2 separate regions of the Homo sapiens genome follow, and region 2 is linked to region 1. Evidence: promoter capture Hi-C in 16 types of primary human blood cells and fetal thymus (Javierre and others, 2016). All regions are on one chromosome and are shown on one strand. Each heading gives the region's core, a stretch centred on a gene start or on the middle of the fragment in contact. The rest is flanking DNA. Distances are from core to core; before and after follow the strand shown. Region 1 holds the start of CLIC3 (chloride intracellular channel 3). Region 2 holds the start of EXD3 (exonuclease 3'-5' domain containing 3).

Region 1 (7,684 bases), core at 3,508-6,007:
AGGGTTTCCCCATTTTGGTCTGGCTGGTCTGGAACTCCCAACCTCAGGTGATCCACTCACCTCGGCCTCCCAAAGTGCTGGGATTACAGGCGTGAGCCATGTGCCTGGCCTAGGGGCCAGGGTTTCAACACACAAATTTTGGGGAGGACACATTCAGTCCCTAGCAGAACCCTGGTTCCTTTTAGGGAAGATGGGCTTTGGGACCAGAATCTGAGCTCTGGTCTGCACACTGCTCCCGAGGTCTCGCTGCCCCCGAGGTCCCGCCGCCCCCGAGGTCCCGCCGCCCCCGAGGTCTCGCCGCCCCCGAGGTCACGCCGCCCCCGATGTCTCGCCGCCCCCGAGGTCTCACCGCTCCCGAGGTCTCACTGCTTCTAGGCTCTCTCCATGCACAGAGCAGATAAATCTCTGCACAAGTTTGCACCAATACCCCAATGCCCCCAGCCCTCCGGCCCCCCAAACAGGTGTGTGTCTCCCTTCAGAACAGAGCTGCTCAAATGTCACTGGGGTGTGGCCCTGTGCAGGCGGAGGCAGGAGGATCACTGGAGCCCAGGAGGTGGAGGCTGCAGTGAGCTATGACTGCGCCATTGCACTCCAGCCTGGGTGACAGAGTGAAACCCTGTCTCAAAAAAAAAAAAAAAAAAAAAAAAAAAGAGCCCCTTGGAAGGGGCCTACAGGGAGGGGTGTTGGGGAGGGAGAGAGTTCTAACCCACCAGTCAGTCAGTCCCAGAGCAGCAGCCTCGGGACCTCAGCTTGGGCCCCTCTAACGCTGGCTCTATGAATCAGGAGCAGGGGCTGCAGGGGACGGGAGGTTTAGGGATAACCCCGTGGCCTCGGGGACCAGGGTCTAGTTAAGGTTAGTGGCTGTGATACTGTTCTTACTTCAAAACATTATGAAATTGTGGTAGAAAATGTGGTATTACAAAAATGTGGTAGAAAATGCAAACAGTGTGGACAGACAGGAAGCAAAACTGAAAGCCTGTTTCTGCCTGTCAGGGGTCATCCCACAGACAGCTCCTTGCGTCTTTTTTCAGCTCTGTTCAAGTAGAGACTCAGAATGACAGATCCTAATGCTGATTTTCTTCCATTTCCTGGCTTCTCCCTGCTTTACTTATTAGCTTGCTGGCGCTGCCATGCAAAGGACCACAAAGTGAGGGGTTTAAAACAACAGAAACTGACTTTGGGAGGCCGAGGTGGGCGGATCACTTGAGGTCAGGAGTTTGAGACCAGCCTGACCAACATGGTGAAACCCCGTCTCTACTAAAAATACAAAAATTAGCCAGGCGTGGTGGTGGGCGCCTGTAATCCCAGCTACTCGGGAGGCTGGGGCAGGAGAATCGCTTCAGCCGGTGAGGCGCGGGTTGCAATGAGCCGAGATTGAGCCATTGCACTCCAGCCTGGGTGACAGTGAGACTCCATCTTAAAACAACAACACCGCGGGGCGCGGGAGCTCACGCCTGTAATCCCAGCACTTTGGGAGGCCGAGGCGAGCGGATCACGAGGTCAGGAGATCGAGACCATCCTGGCTAACGCAGTGAAACCCCGTCTCTACTAAAAATACAAAAATTAGCCAGGTGTGGTAGCGGGCGCCTGTAGTCCCAGCTACTTGGGAGGCTGAGACAGGAGAATGGCGTGAACCTGGGGAGGCAGAACTTGCAGTGAGCCGAGATTGTGCCACTGCACTCCAGCCTGGGCGACAGAGCAAGACTGCATCTCATTAAAAAAAAAAAACAAAAAAAACAGAAGCTCACTGCCTAGCAGTCTGGAGGTCAGACATAGCACCTAGGCTTGGGCAGGGCTGCTTCCTCCCAAGGGCCTTGGAGAGCATCCGCTTGGCTCCCAGGCTTACAGATGTGCCACCCTGATTTCTGCCTGCGGCCCTCCCTGTGCATCTGTGTCCAAACTCGCCTTTCTATACTGACATCAGTCATATTGGATCAGGGCACATCCTACTCACCACATTTTAACTTGATAACTTCTATAAAGACCCTATTTCAGCCGGGTGCGGTGGCTCACACCTGTATTCCCAGCATTTTGGGAGGCCAAGGTGGGTAGATCTTCTGAGGTCAGGAGTTCGAGACCAGCCTGATCAACATGGTGAAACCCTGTCTCTACTACAAATACAAGGAAAAAAAAAAAAAGCTCAGCGTGGTGACGTGTACCTGTAATCCCAGCTACTCCAGAGGCTGAGAAAGTAGAATTGCTTGAACCCAGGAGGCAGAAGTTGCAGTGAGCCGAGATTGCACCACTGCATTCCAGCCTGGGCAACAGAGCAAGACTCTGTCTCAAAAAAAATGTTAAAAAGCCCCTGTTTCCACATAAGGTCACATTCTTTATTTTTTTTCCAAGATGGAGTCTTGCTCTGTTGCCCAGGCTGGAATGCAGTGGCACTATCTCTGCTCACTGCAACTCTGTCTCCCGGGTTCAAGCACTTCTCCTGCCTCAGCTTCCCGAGTAGCTGGGATTACAGGTGCCTGCCACTATGCCTGGCTAATTTTTGTATTTTTAGTAGAGACGGGGTTTCACCATGTTGGTCAGGCTGGTCTCAAACTCCTGACCTCAGGTGATCCACCCCCCTCGGCCTCCCAGACTGCTGGGATTACAGGCATGAGTCACCGTGCCCGGCCCATATAAGGTCACATTCTGAGGCACTAGGGGTTAGGACTCCAGCCTAAGAATTTAAATTTAAGGGGACACAAGCCACGCCATTTACCTAATCTCAGGCCCTCCCTGCAGTGGGCATGCATGGAGTCACCTTTTCCGTCCTTCTCCCTGGACACAACTGGAGTCTCCCATAGACAGGGTGGTGGCCGTGCCACGGAGCCACGCCACGCCACGCCACGCCACGCAGTGGGGCAGCCAGCACTCACTTGCCCTTCACAGGGAAACCGGCCGGGTGTGGCAGCTCGCGCCTGTAGTTCCAGCACTGTGGGAGACCAAGGCAGGTGGGTCACTTGAGCCCATGAGGTGGAGACCAGCCTGGGCAACATGGCAGGACCCTGTTTCTAGTAAATAAATGAATTGATTAAACCATAAAAAAAAAAGGAAGCCACCGGGCTGATTCCCAGGTGGCGAGGGCACAGGGGGGTGTTGGATGGCCACTGCCGCTCCACAGTCCACAGCCCACGCCCACAGAACGCAGTGGGGCCGCTGCAGCGGTGAACCGAGTCTTGTTGGTTTGTTTCTTGAGACGGGCGTGAGGTGAATGGTCTTCCTGTGTCTTGTTTTCTTTTTCCTTCTGAGCCACCGGTTCACGGCCTCTGTCCGTGCCGTCATTTTTCCTGTGGGTTTGTGAGGGTGCGTCTGTCGGTGTTAAAGACACAGGATGCCGGGGCAGCAGAGGGGGCTGGGGGCCTGGGGCTTCTCTGTGGTTGGCCATTTGCCTGCCAGGGATGTGGGAAACCAGCAAGCGGAGCTATAACCACAGTGTCCAGAAAGAGCTGAAATACTAGGGCTTGGAATCGAGGTGGAGGCCGGATGGAGGGAAATTGAGGTTCAGGACACCAAAGGATGGGGCAGCCACATGGTATTTCCAAGGCTCTGTGTCCAGGAGCCCCGACTGGCGTGGTATCCAGAGAAGCATCAGGCTGGGCTGACTGGGGCAGCACTGGAGTGTGTTCCACCGGGGACGGATGAGGGGCCCGTACCAAGGCCCTGGGGAGAAGGTGAGCAGGAGAGCAGTGCCACCTCAGCTGCCCTGTCCAGGCTGGTGAGGCACCACACCGCCTGGGGGAGGTGTGGCCAGGCCAATCCTGTGGGCACCCCAGGTCTCTGGGTGGAATCTCCCCTCGGTGTACCTCCCTGGGGCTGCACCCTAAAGCGTCAGGGCCAGGTGGGAGGAAGGCACAGTTGGCGACCCCAAAGGGCCAGACTGAACTGTGGGTTCCAATCACGCCAGGAGGCTCAGCGCAGGCTCACACCTGTGGACCACCACCCTCCCCTGGCCTCTTTCTTCCAGCCACGCAGGCTGTGGCTTCTAACCCCTCTCCTGCTGCTTCTTTTTAAAGGTTAAGGGGTTGGGGGTAAGAAACCTGCGCTGAGCGCCAGTGGGAGGGATGGGAGGTGGGGTGGAGACCTGCACTGCCGGCCAAACACCAAAGCCAGGCTGGCCTCCCCGCCCTGTTGCGGGCAGGTCTGGAATTTGAGCCCTGCCCTGAGCGGGGAGGGCCCTGCCTGACTGCTCCGTAGCTGGGAAGGGGCGGCTCCCCCAGGTGGGCTTATCACCCTCCCGATGCCCTGGTGCTGCAGATGGGGAACTGAAGCCAGGCTGGGCAGGCCATTTCTCCTGCTCACCCACACCCACTGGCTTTCTGGGCTGGGAGCCCTGACAAGGGGTATTTGCGGAAGGGAGAGCCATAGGGCAGGGTCTGAGCTGGGTTCACGGTGGAGGTGGTCCTGACCCAGAGCCGCCCCCTTCCCAGGTGACACCCCCTGCACCCTTCTGGCCTGTAGGCTCTCCCTATGCCCTGCCCCCTGGTCTCCACCCACCACGCTGGCTCCCAGCACACTCAGTACCGGGTGGGCGGATCTCCGTGCACACCAGACTCAAGTCCAGGGCAGCCCCCCACACCATTCCGCCACCCTGAGGTCACACCCTCAGGCTCAGACACCCCGGGGCCGGGCTGGCGTTGCTCAGGCAGCTGGTTCTGCGCGCTGGGCAGCTTCATCTGCCCGCCTAGGTGGCTCCACGGGGCGGGCCCCTCGGCCAGGGAGGGCGGGGCGCACAGGGAGACTTAAAGAGCTCCCCAGGTCCCCACCCGCGCCTGACCGCGGCAGCTCCCACCATGGCGGAGACCAAGCTCCAGCTGTTTGTCAAGGTGCAGGGCGGACTCAGCTGCGGGGAGGGTGTCTGGGAGGAAGCGCTTTTCTGGGCTTTGCTTTCTGTGGCAGGCTGTGGGGTGGGCCTCCCAGTAATGTCTGAGCCCCTTCCTGTGGGTGGCTAGGGGGACTCAGGCAGCCCTACAGAGGCTGAGTAAAGTGGGACCCAGCGAGTCACCCAGAGAGGGGTCAGTGGCCCTGGTCCTGCTCCCAGCCTTGGCTCCTGGGCCCAGCCCAGTCTTCTGGAGGAGAGCTCCTTGGTGGGGAGGTACCAAGCAGGCTGCCAACAGTGGAGCTTACGGTCGGTGTTCCAGGATGGGGGGTGCTGGGCCAGGCAGCCCCATCAGCTCTCAGGTCGGGGACTGGGGTGGGGGACTGATGTGCTGTTGGCCACAGTGCCCAGTCTCATGTGTGAATCACTCAGAAAACAGCTTGTGAGGCCCACCCCACCCCTGCAACCAGCTTTTGGGGACTGAGCCCAGGGGCCTGGCCTCTGTCCAGGCTCTGACAAGATTCCAGGGGCCAAGCCTGCCCCAGGCCTCAAGGCTCCCAGCAGCTCTGCCCCCCTCCCCACGTTCTGGGGACCAAGTCAAGGGCCCTCACTGGGCACTTGGAAGTCGCGCCGACCAAGCTGGAGCCCTGGCGTCCCTCCAATCCCACTGGCAGTGGGAGGCGGGTCCCGCCCAGCCTGGCGGCAGGATGCCTGGGTCTGCTTCCAGCCCTGACCCCCCACCCCCGCTCCACCCACCCAGGCGAGTGAGGACGGGGAGAGCGTGGGTCACTGCCCCTCCTGCCAGCGGCTCTTCATGGTCCTGCTCCTCAAGGGCGTACCTTTCACCCTCACCACGGTGGACACGCGCAGGTGAGGCCCCATCCTGTGGACCCCCGCCTGGCCTCGCACACTGGTGGGCCGGCCTCCTCCCACCCCGCTGCTGCCCGCAGGTCCCCGGACGTGCTGAAGGACTTCGCCCCCGGCTCGCAGCTGCCCATCCTGCTCTATGACAGCGACGCCAAGACAGACACGCTGCAGATCGAGGACTTTCTGGAGGAGACGCTGGGGCCGCCCGAGTGAGAGCCCCGGCAGGGTGGGAGGGGAAAAGAGGGGGGCCCAGGGAGGACGCGCGCAAGACAGAGCCCAGGAAGGCGCTGTGGGGGTACTGTGGGGCCGGGACGGGGCTGCCCCCAGTCTAATGGAGTCCCACCCCCTCATCCCGCAGCTTCCCCAGCCTGGCGCCTCGTTACAGGGAGTCCAACACCGCCGGCAACGACGTTTTCCACAAGTTCTCCGCGTTCATCAAGAACCCGGTGCCCGCGCAGGACGAAGGTGAAGCGGGGTCAGGGGGTCGGGTGCCCAGGCGGGAGGGCGCCCTGGGCCTGGTCCTCACCGCGCCGCCTGCCCCCTAGCCCTGTACCAGCAGCTGCTGCGCGCCCTCGCCAGGCTGGACAGCTACCTGCGCGCGCCCCTGGAGCACGAGCTGGCGGGGGAGCCGCAGCTGCGCGAGTCCCGCCGCCGCTTCCTGGACGGCGACAGGCTCACGCTGGCCGACTGCAGCCTCCTGCCCAAGCTGCACATCGTCGACGTGAGCACGGAAGGTGGGCGGGCGGGAGGGTGACCGCGGCGCGCCTGGGGGACGGCAGGTCCTGACCGCGCCCCGCGATCCTGCCCGCAGACGGTGTGCGCGCACTTCCGCCAGGCGCCCATCCCCGCGGAGCTGCGCGGCGTACGCCGCTACCTGGACAGCGCGATGCAGGAGAAAGAGTTCAAATACACGTGTCCGCACAGCGCCGAGATCCTGGCGGCCTACCGGCCCGCCGTGCACCCCCGCTAGCGCCCCACCCCGCGTCTGTCGCCCAATAAAGGCATCTTTGTCGGGAGTGAGGGTGTCCTGACATCTGAAGGGCCAGAGGTCTCGGGATCACTTCCCATCCCCAAACCCCAGGGTGGGACGCTCAGCCCGATAGCCCAGAACCACAGGGGCAGGAGCGCCGGGGGTCGGGCCGGTCCCATCCTCCACGCTAAGAAGGCGCAGACTCCAGGCCTCCTGCAACCGGTGGCCTCAGGGATCTCCAGGACCGGACTGGGCTCCCAAACCAGTCAGGCCGGGGTGGGGCGGGGTGCCCCAGGTGGATGGGGGCTGGCACATTCCTCAATCCTGTCCCGGGGCAGGCGCTCCCCTCCCCGCAGGGCACTTCCAGTGTCTCAGGGTCTACACGGGACTTCTGTCTGCATCCTCCCACGGGGCTCCGTGCCCTACCTGGGTGCGGCCTGGGAGGGTGGGAACAAAGTTCTAAGCCTTGGGGAGCCCTGGCCCTGCCTGGCTGGGCCCCTCTCAGCTCCTGGGCTGGCAGGGCTGGAATAGCTGGACGGTCTGAGAGTGCTCACCTCCCTCCGGCCCAGCAAGGAAGTCTCCAGGGAGCTGAGAGGCTGCAGCATCTGTTCACATCCTGTGGCCCTACACCCAGAACACAGGCCCAGGGGTGTTCCCTGATCCCTTCCCAGGCCAGTGCCAGGAGTCAGAGCCCCACCAGAGCCTCCAACCAAGGGAGCTGTTTATTTGACAGGGAAGGAATTTGAGGAGCCGTGTTAGTCCTGGCCCAGGACAGGCAGGTGGAGGTGGTGGCGGGGGGTCTCTGATGGGGGCCTCAAAGACTGCCTCTCCCCTCATAGGCGGACTCCCCGCGGGGCCACGCTTGTGCTGCACCTTCAGGTCTCATCGAAGTCCACGCCACCAGCTGGTTTCTTACTGGGAGGGAAGAGGGGTGTCACTATGGCACTATGGTGTGGAGAAAGGGGTGGGGTCCAGGATTGGACCCTGGGCGCAGGAAGGGGGCTGTGGGAGGGTACCTCTTGAACCCGGGGTTGATGAGC
Region 2 (7,684 bases), core at 2,549-5,048, 430 kb before region 1:
CCAGGCGTGGTGGCACATGCCTGTAATCCCAGCTACCCGGGAGGCTAAGGCAGGAGAATCGCTTGAACCCAGGAGGCGGAGGTTGCAGTGAGCCGAGATCGCACAATTGCACTCCAGCCTGGATGACAGAGCAAGGCTCCTTCTCAAAACAATTTTTAAAAAGTAAATAAATATCTTTTACAGAATTTTATTTTTTCTAGAATTATATTTTTTGGGATTTTAGATTTGAGGGGTTTTGATATTTCAGGATTGCGAGGCTCTCGGGACTGTGATCCACTTCCCCACAGAGCCTGCCCTCCTGGGATGGGGCCTGTGAGTGTCTAGCAGAGAGGCCGAGGCATGGCCTGGTCTGCAGTCCCGATGGTCTCCTTTCCCTCATTCCTCCTTTAGGAAGGGACATGGTGCAGAGAGCCCAGGTAAGCAGTGAGGACCCCACGACCTGTGTCCAAGGGTGGCGCTCAGCAGAGGCGAGGGCCACAGTCTCAGGTTTCCCTGGAGCCAGGAACCATGGAGGAGGGGGTGGGCAAGAGGAGGGAGTGGATGGAGAGGGAGGAGGAGGAGGTGCAGGAGTGGACTCTGCAGGGAGACAAAGGGCCGTCAGAGAAGGAACAAGGCACCCCTGTACTCACCTTGCCAGCTGGAAGTTGGCCACTCCTCGCTGGAAGAAGCCAACCGCCATGCAGGTGTCCTTGGTCACGGCTTGGTCAAATGCCTGGGGACAAAAATGCCCACGGGATGCCAAGGTCTGTAACCTGGTCACGCAGCATCACAGATACAGCGTGATGGGTGACAGGGCCACGGAATTCCGTCAGCCCCTGGGGACCCCCCACAGCCCCTCCTGCTCCTGTCCAGGAACCTTCGGAGCCCCTGCCTGGGCAGGGCTGTCGCCACTCAGGTTGCCACAGCCCACCCAACCCCAACCCGTCCAAGGCGCAGAGCCCACTGAGGTGCTGCTAAAACCAATGTGTTTACCATGAGCACAAGGACAGAGGCCAGAAAAAAGTGTTCCAGTATGTTAATAATAGTTACCTCTGGGGAGTGGGGTTATGCAAGATTTTTGTCTTTTAAAAATCCTTTTTTTTTTTTTTGAGACGGGGTCTCGCTCTGTCACCCAGGCTGGAGTGCAGTGGCTCGATCTTGGCTCACTGCTGCCTCCGCCTCTGGGTTCAAGACATTCTCAAACTCCTGACCTCAGGCAACCTTGGCTGTCACATACTGGAGACGAGATAACGCAGTCCAGATCCCAGAGTCAGCAGCTAAAGAACTGCATTACAGGCCGGGCATGTTAGCTCACGCCTGTAATCCTAGCATGTTGGGAAGCTGAGGTGGGCGGATCACCTGAGGTCAGGAGTTTGAGACCAGCCTGGCCAACATGGTGAAACCCCATCTCTACTAAAAATACAAAAATTAGCTGGGCATGGCGGCACGCGCCTGTAGTCCCAGCTACTCGGGAGGTTGAGGCAGGAGAATCGCTTGAACCCGGGAGGTAGAGGTTGCAGTGAGCCAAGATCGCACCACTGCACTCCAGCCTGCAAGACAGAGCGAGATTCCGTCTCAAAAAATAAATAAAATAAAAATCCTTTTTTGATAGTTCATGCAAAATGACACCCTAGAAATCTATTAGAATCAGAAAGAACAACACACGTCTTCATGTGTTTATCTGTGTGTAAAGCACAGCTCTTCCTTAAACCAGACTCAGGAGGACACAGAAGGTTCTGAACAGGGACCGTGGCCATCAGTTAAATGTGTGTGACAGGAAGGGTGCTACGGTCTCTTTCACAAATCTGGCTGAGTGGGGGCTTGTCGTTGAACCAAGTTCACACAGGTGTGAAGTGTGGCGGCTGAGCACAGGCACGCAGCCCTGATGTGGGGTGGCGGCTCAGGGCCAGCAGAACCCACCTGTCTGCCCCAAACGTCACGCAAGGCTCCTAACAAGAGACAGCAGTTCCAGCGACACCCTCTGCACCCTGGGCTGCCCCTCACGTGATCGGCTTTATGAATCATAGCTGTTCCATCTGCTTTCCTAAGTTCCCATATTCCTAACATGCATATGCTGTGGGTTAGTCGTATGACTTTCACTGCGTCCCCTCTCTGTAGTGAAACCAGGCACAAGAGCACAAGTGACTGGGTTAGCCCCGGACATAGGATTTGTTGCTGAACCACCTGGTGTCTAAAGATTACATTCCCTTTCTTGGATAACATTTTAAAATGAAATCATTGTGGGCCGGACAAGGTGGCTCACATGTGTAATCCCACCACTATGGGTGGCCGAGGAGGGTGGATCACCTGAGGTCAGGAGTTCAAGACCAGCCTGACCAACATGGTGAAACCCGTTTCTACTAAAAATACTAAATTAGCCAGGCGTGGTAGTGGGCGCCTGTACTCCCAGCAACTAGGGAGGCTGAGGCAGGAGAATTGCTTGAACCCGGGAGGCAGAGGTTGCAGTGAGCCAAGATTGGGCCACGGCACTCCATTCAGCCTGGGTGACAGAACGAGACTCCATCTTTGAAACAAACAAAAAAATGAAATCATTATGGAGGTGATTGTAAATTTGTACGCAGCTTTAAGACACAAGAGAGGGGGGTCTCATGCGCTTTGCCCAGTCTCCTCCAAGGGGGATATTTTGCCAGTCAGGGGCGTGGAGACCCTCCCACAGCGCGCAGTTCCCTCTCCTTTAAATCACTGCTGTCACCGAGCCTTCAGTAACCGTGGGCACCTGCCTGCTTCTGCGGGGTGCTTGGGACTGAGCGGGGGTGGGCAGCGCTGGCGTTTGGGATGCGCAGGAACAGGCGGCCCCGGAACGCGAGGGGGCACGAGAAGGGCACCGGGCTCCGTGCAGGGCCTCGGCCGCTGCACCCTGGCACCCTGGACTCCTGGCTGTTTCGGGGAGTGGGCTGGGGGAGGGCTGAGGGCTCTGAGGAGGAGACTGACCCGGTCTCCCGGCCATGACCACAGGCGCAACGCTTTCCCCTTAGGGCAGGGCGGTCCCTCGGGCCTGACCCAGCCCAGCAGCTTCCCCCTTCCCGGTGTGAGTCACCCTCGGGCCCCGGCCTCTCCCGGTGACCGCCGCGCCCCCCAGCGCGGCCTCGCTTAGCTCAGGTGCGGCCCCCCTGCTCGGCTCCCACCTGCCGGGGCGTTCGCTGGGTCGGGGGCGGCAGGGCGACCCCGTGACGGTCGGGGAGGGGCGCTGGGCCCTCCCCAGGGGCTCGAGGCGGAGGCGTCGCCCGCACCGGCCTCCCCACGCCCCGCTCACCCGCAGCGCGGCCTCGGGGTCCCCGGCCAGCAGGTGCACGCAGCCCGCGTTGAAGCACAGCCTGGCGGGCGGCGCCGGGACGCCCGAGAAGAGGTGCAAGGCGCGGGCCCAGTCCCCACGATCCACAGCCTGCGCGCCCAGGTGCCAGGCGCGCACCAGGTCCCCCAGAGAGGCCATGGCGGCCGGTGGCGGCGCTCGAGGAGGGGCCAGGATCCCGCGGAGGGGCCGGGGCCGGGGCCAGGCGGCGGCGCGGGGCTGCGGGGTCTCCGAGGCGGGCAGAGGTGCGGGCGCCAAGCGCCAGGTGCAACCCCGCTGCCCCGCGGCGCCCCCTGGCGGCAGGCGCCCGCCCCTCCCCGGTAAGGCCACGCCCCCGCCAGAAACGGCTACGCCCACTCCAGACCCTCAGGCCTCGCCCACCTCCCATTCGGCCCCCGCCCCGGCCGGACTTCCGCCGGGAGCTTTGTGCGCCCGGCTTCCTCGCCCCGCCCGCGCTGGCCTTGGTGCGCCGGATAAAGCCCTCCGGGCCAGCGGCTGCGGTCGGGCCAAGGTTCCGCGCCGGGCGTGGACGGTGTGGGGCGGTCCCGGCCCCGCAGGTGAGCGACCCCGGGCCGCGCGGGCCAGGTGGGCGGTCTGGGCGCCGGGGGCAGAGCGGGGCCGGGCCGGGTGCGCGTCCTGAGGTGAGGGCCGTAGCTGGGAGTGAGCCGGGGGCGGGCCGCCGGCTCTCCCGGGGTGGGGAAACTGAGGCCCCGATGGGGCGGGGAAGGTGCGTTCTCCCGCAGGGCCCCGCTCCGGAGGCCGCCGAGCAGCCGGACGCCGCGGGGAGCTGAGCCGACCCCGGCGACCCCGCCGCCCTGTCCCGCAGGGCCTGCCCTCCTCCGCGCCTTCCGAGCACGGACATCACAGGACCCGGAGGCCCTTCGCTCCCTCGCCGAGGAGGAGGCGCTCCCGGTGGGACGCGCGCGCGCCCGCCCTGCCCTCCCCGGGAGAAGGGACGGGCGCCTCCCTGCAGGGGCCCTGGCTTCCTGTCCACCGGCGCTGAGTCCTGTATTAGTTGTCAACCTAAAATAATTAAAAGGGTCAGAATGTGGTGCCCGGTGGGTTTATTCAGGCACAGAGGTCGAGGGCGGCCTGGGTCACCAGGTGCAACGGAGAACAAAACAGAGGCTCAGGTTTTTAAAGAAAACAGAGCCCATCGGAGAGCAGGTGGTTTCGAACGTTGCCCAGGAGCTCACTGGCTTGTAGAAATGGCATTGGTTCGCGATTGACCACGGCTTGGTGTCATCAGTGGATAGTTACTTGGCTCGAGGGGTAGTGAGGGGCTGCGGTTTCATTTGAAATGCTTTCTGGCACTTAACATCAAGCTTTCTGGGCCCACAGTTTAAAAGGGCTTTACATTCCTCAGATAAATGATTTTTTTCTTTCTCATTTGCCCCCCTTTTGATCAAAATCTTTCTTCTTGAAAGCATTGATTATCAAAATCTGAGGGTCAGAGTGTCCCCTCTTGCTGGGAAGGCTCATTCCCACATAGTCCTGTCCCATGCCAAGCAGGGAAGGAGGAGACATTTCAGGGAGTTTTTTTTTTTTTTTTTTTTTTAAGAACACCACAAACTGAATTGGAATGGCATTACAGGGTGGCAAACATGAGGTCTCAGTGAAGTCATTAATTTATACAACTGCTGTCACCTGTTGAATCATCTCTAGTTTTTAGAAACACCATTAATTTTAATTTTCTCAGAAGTAACACATAGGACTATAACCAATTTGTATGCCAGGATGAAAAAAACAAACCTGTTCCATTAGGGAGACAACTAAAAACATGAAGAAACTAAAATCCATGTTCTTCTTTCTTTTTATTTATTTGTTTACTTAGAAATGGGGTCTTGCTCTGTCACCCATGCTGGAGTGCAGAGGCACGATTCCCACTCATCGCAGCCTTGAACTCTTGGGCTTAAATGATCCTCTTGTCTTAGCCTCCTGAGTACCTGGGAATACAGGTGTTTGCCACCAGGACCGGCTAATTTTAAATTTTTTTGGTAGAGACTAGGTCTTGACACCTTGCCCAGGCTAGTCTCGAACTCCTGAGCCCAAGTGATCCTCTCATCTGGGCCTCCCAAAGTGCTGGGGTTATAGGTGTGAACCTCTGCCCAGCCAGGTTCTTCTTTGAGACTTGTAGCCAGAAGATTGTTCAGGATTTAGTCCAGATTGTAGGAAAATAAAAAATACAATGATCAGGGCTAGAATCCAGTAACAGGTATGCTGTAGTTTTTCTCTGAAACATAATTTTTCTCTACTTCCCCATTTCTACCAAAGATAAATCTTGGTAAGACCAATTTACTTGTAAAATAAATTTTAGGATTATATTTGGCCTGATTATTTGCCTAAAGTACAACAGTGGTGATTGGCCATATAGGCTCCTTTCTAAACTGGCTGGAACTTTGCCATAAGGAATTTCAGACTTTTTTTCCCCACATCAGACAGGTAATGTGCTGGCGTCATAACAGCGTTTGAAGGAGACAGACCCTACACATGAGGCAATCATCATGCTTATGAACTACAAGAGGGTCAGAATAGACCTTTAAAAGCCACTTGAGGGCTGGGCATGGTGGCTCATGCCTGTAATCCCAGCACTTTGGGAGGCCAAGGTGGGAGGATTCATTGAGCCCAGGAGTTTGAGACCAACCTGGGCAACATAGCGAGGTCCCTGTCTCCACAAAAAATTTAAAAATTACCTGGGCATAGTGGTGCTCACCTGTAGTCCCAGCTACTCAGGAGGCTGAAATGGGAGGATCGCTTGAGTCCAGGAGATTGAGGCTGCAGTGAGCTATGATCGCACCACTGCACTCCAGCCTGGGTGACAGAGCGAGACCCTGTCTCTAAACAAAACAAACACTTCCCATGTCTAGGAAGCCAAGCCAGTGGCTCCCCATCACAGTGTATGTATAATACCTGTATGAATTTGGGGGGGGGGGTGAATGTCTGTCCTCCAGGTCCCAAACTATCTTGAAGTTCCTGGATCTGTCGGAAAGTGACATTCTTTCCTTACCTCAAGGCCAAGAACCTTTTAAGGGAACTATGTAAACAGGGCACCAGTCCAGTCATCCCAAGGGGCTTTTTATTGGCTCTATAAAGCGAACCTCGATTCCTCAAAGCAGTCTCGTCATATCCAAAAATACGTCATCCCAGTCCAAGCCTTGGTAGAATAACCAGGGTCTCCAATTGTGTCCTGTTACAAGGACAACAGATTCTTACTGAACTCATGCAAAGAACTACATTGCCATAAAATAAGAATACTCATGAATCGCTTCCAGATTTTTGAGAAATCAGGTAGAGAAAAAGACAAATATTTCAGTTTTGCTCACAAAAGTATATGTCACTCAATTGCTATAGCTATAAATAGCTCAAAAAGAAAAAGGTTTTCTGACTCTGGAAAACAAAATATAAAAAGAGTCAGCAAGGTTTCGATAACAACAAAAAATCATAAAAAGCATTTCAGGCCTCTATCAGTTCAGTTCTATGTAATTTGCTGGGGTTTTTTTTGTTTTTTTTTTAGGCGGAGTCTCCCTCTGTCGCCCAGGCTGGAGTGCAGTGGTACAATCTCGGCTCACTGCCAGCTCCGCCTCCCGGGTTCACGCCATTCACCAGCCTCAGCCTCCCGAGTAGCTGGGACTACAGGCACCTGCCACCATGCCCGGCTAATTTTTTTGTATTTTTAGTAGAGATGGGGTTTCACCGTATTAGCCAGGATGGTCTCGATCTCCTGACCTCGTGATCCGCCCGCCTTGGCCTCCCAAAGTGCTGGGATTACAGGCATGAGCCACCGCGCCCGGCCGCTTTTTTCTGTATGATGTTGGGTTAACAATCCTCATGAATGCATCAGCTTTTAAATAAGAGTCCTGGAAGTTTTTATCTGGTCTACTGGTGTGATCTCCCAGGTTATCGGAAGTCTGTATACTTGTCAATGTCCTTTCCATGAATTTCCTTGAAGAAAATGCAAATTTTGGACTGTACCTTATTTTATTTTATTTATTTATTTATTTTGAGATGGAGTCTCGCTCTGTTGCCCAGGCTGGAGTGTAGTGGTGCGATCTTGGCTCACTGCAACCTCCGCCTCCCAGGTTCAAGCGATTCTCCTGTCTCAGCCTCCCAAGTAACTGGGATTACAGGCATGAGCCACCATGCCCAGCTAATTTTGTATTTTTAGTAGAAACGGGGTTTTACCACATTGGCCTGGCTGGTTTCGAACTCCTGACCTCAAGTGATCCACCCGCCTCAGCCTCCCGAAGTGTTGGGATTACAGGCATGAGCCACCGTGCCCGGCCTTAAACTGCATTTTGAGAAGAATCAAAGTAAAACAGTAATTTTCTGCAGATGACAAAAGACTTAGAGTAGCCATGGGTGAAGACGCGATTGGCAGGGAATTTGGTTACTTCT

Evidence for each region. Contacts are between HindIII fragments. The CHiCAGO score rates a contact against its expected background, and 5 or more counts as called.
Region 2: a contact is called between the fragment with the promoter of EXD3 here and the fragment with the promoter of CLIC3 in region 1, in 1 of 17 cell types (M0 macrophages). The highest score is 8.6, in M0 macrophages.

The regions. Positions count from the first base shown.
Region 1 is chr9:136,993,641-137,001,324 of GRCh38, reverse strand. CLIC3 (chloride intracellular channel 3) reads left to right here and starts at 4,757. Exons shown (of 6, transcript NM_004669.3): 1 at 4,757-4,814; 2 at 5,568-5,677; 3 at 5,758-5,883; 4 at 6,033-6,139; 5 at 6,220-6,395; 6 at 6,486-6,717. The coding sequence starts at 4,782. The coding sequence ends at 6,644. It overlaps PAXX (PAXX non-homologous end joining factor), which reads right to left. Exons shown (of 7, transcript NM_183241.3): 6 at 7,661-7,684; 7 at 7,349-7,559. The coding sequence ends at 7,520. RefSeq lists an enhancer at 1,040-1,159. The HindIII fragment of the contact is 14,896 bases long and covers 1-7,684 here.
Region 2 is chr9:137,419,276-137,426,959 of GRCh38, reverse strand. EXD3 (exonuclease 3'-5' domain containing 3) reads left to right here and starts at 3,798. Exons shown (of 22, transcript NM_017820.5): 1 at 3,798-3,846. NOXA1 (NADPH oxidase activator 1) reads right to left here and starts at 3,567. Exons shown (of 14, transcript NM_001256067.2): 1 at 3,254-3,567; 2 at 630-712. The coding sequence starts at 3,430. It also overlaps the pseudogene LOC124902354. RefSeq lists silencers at 3,337-3,896, 3,917-4,056, 4,067-4,206. The HindIII fragment of the contact is 6,751 bases long and covers 1-4,616 here.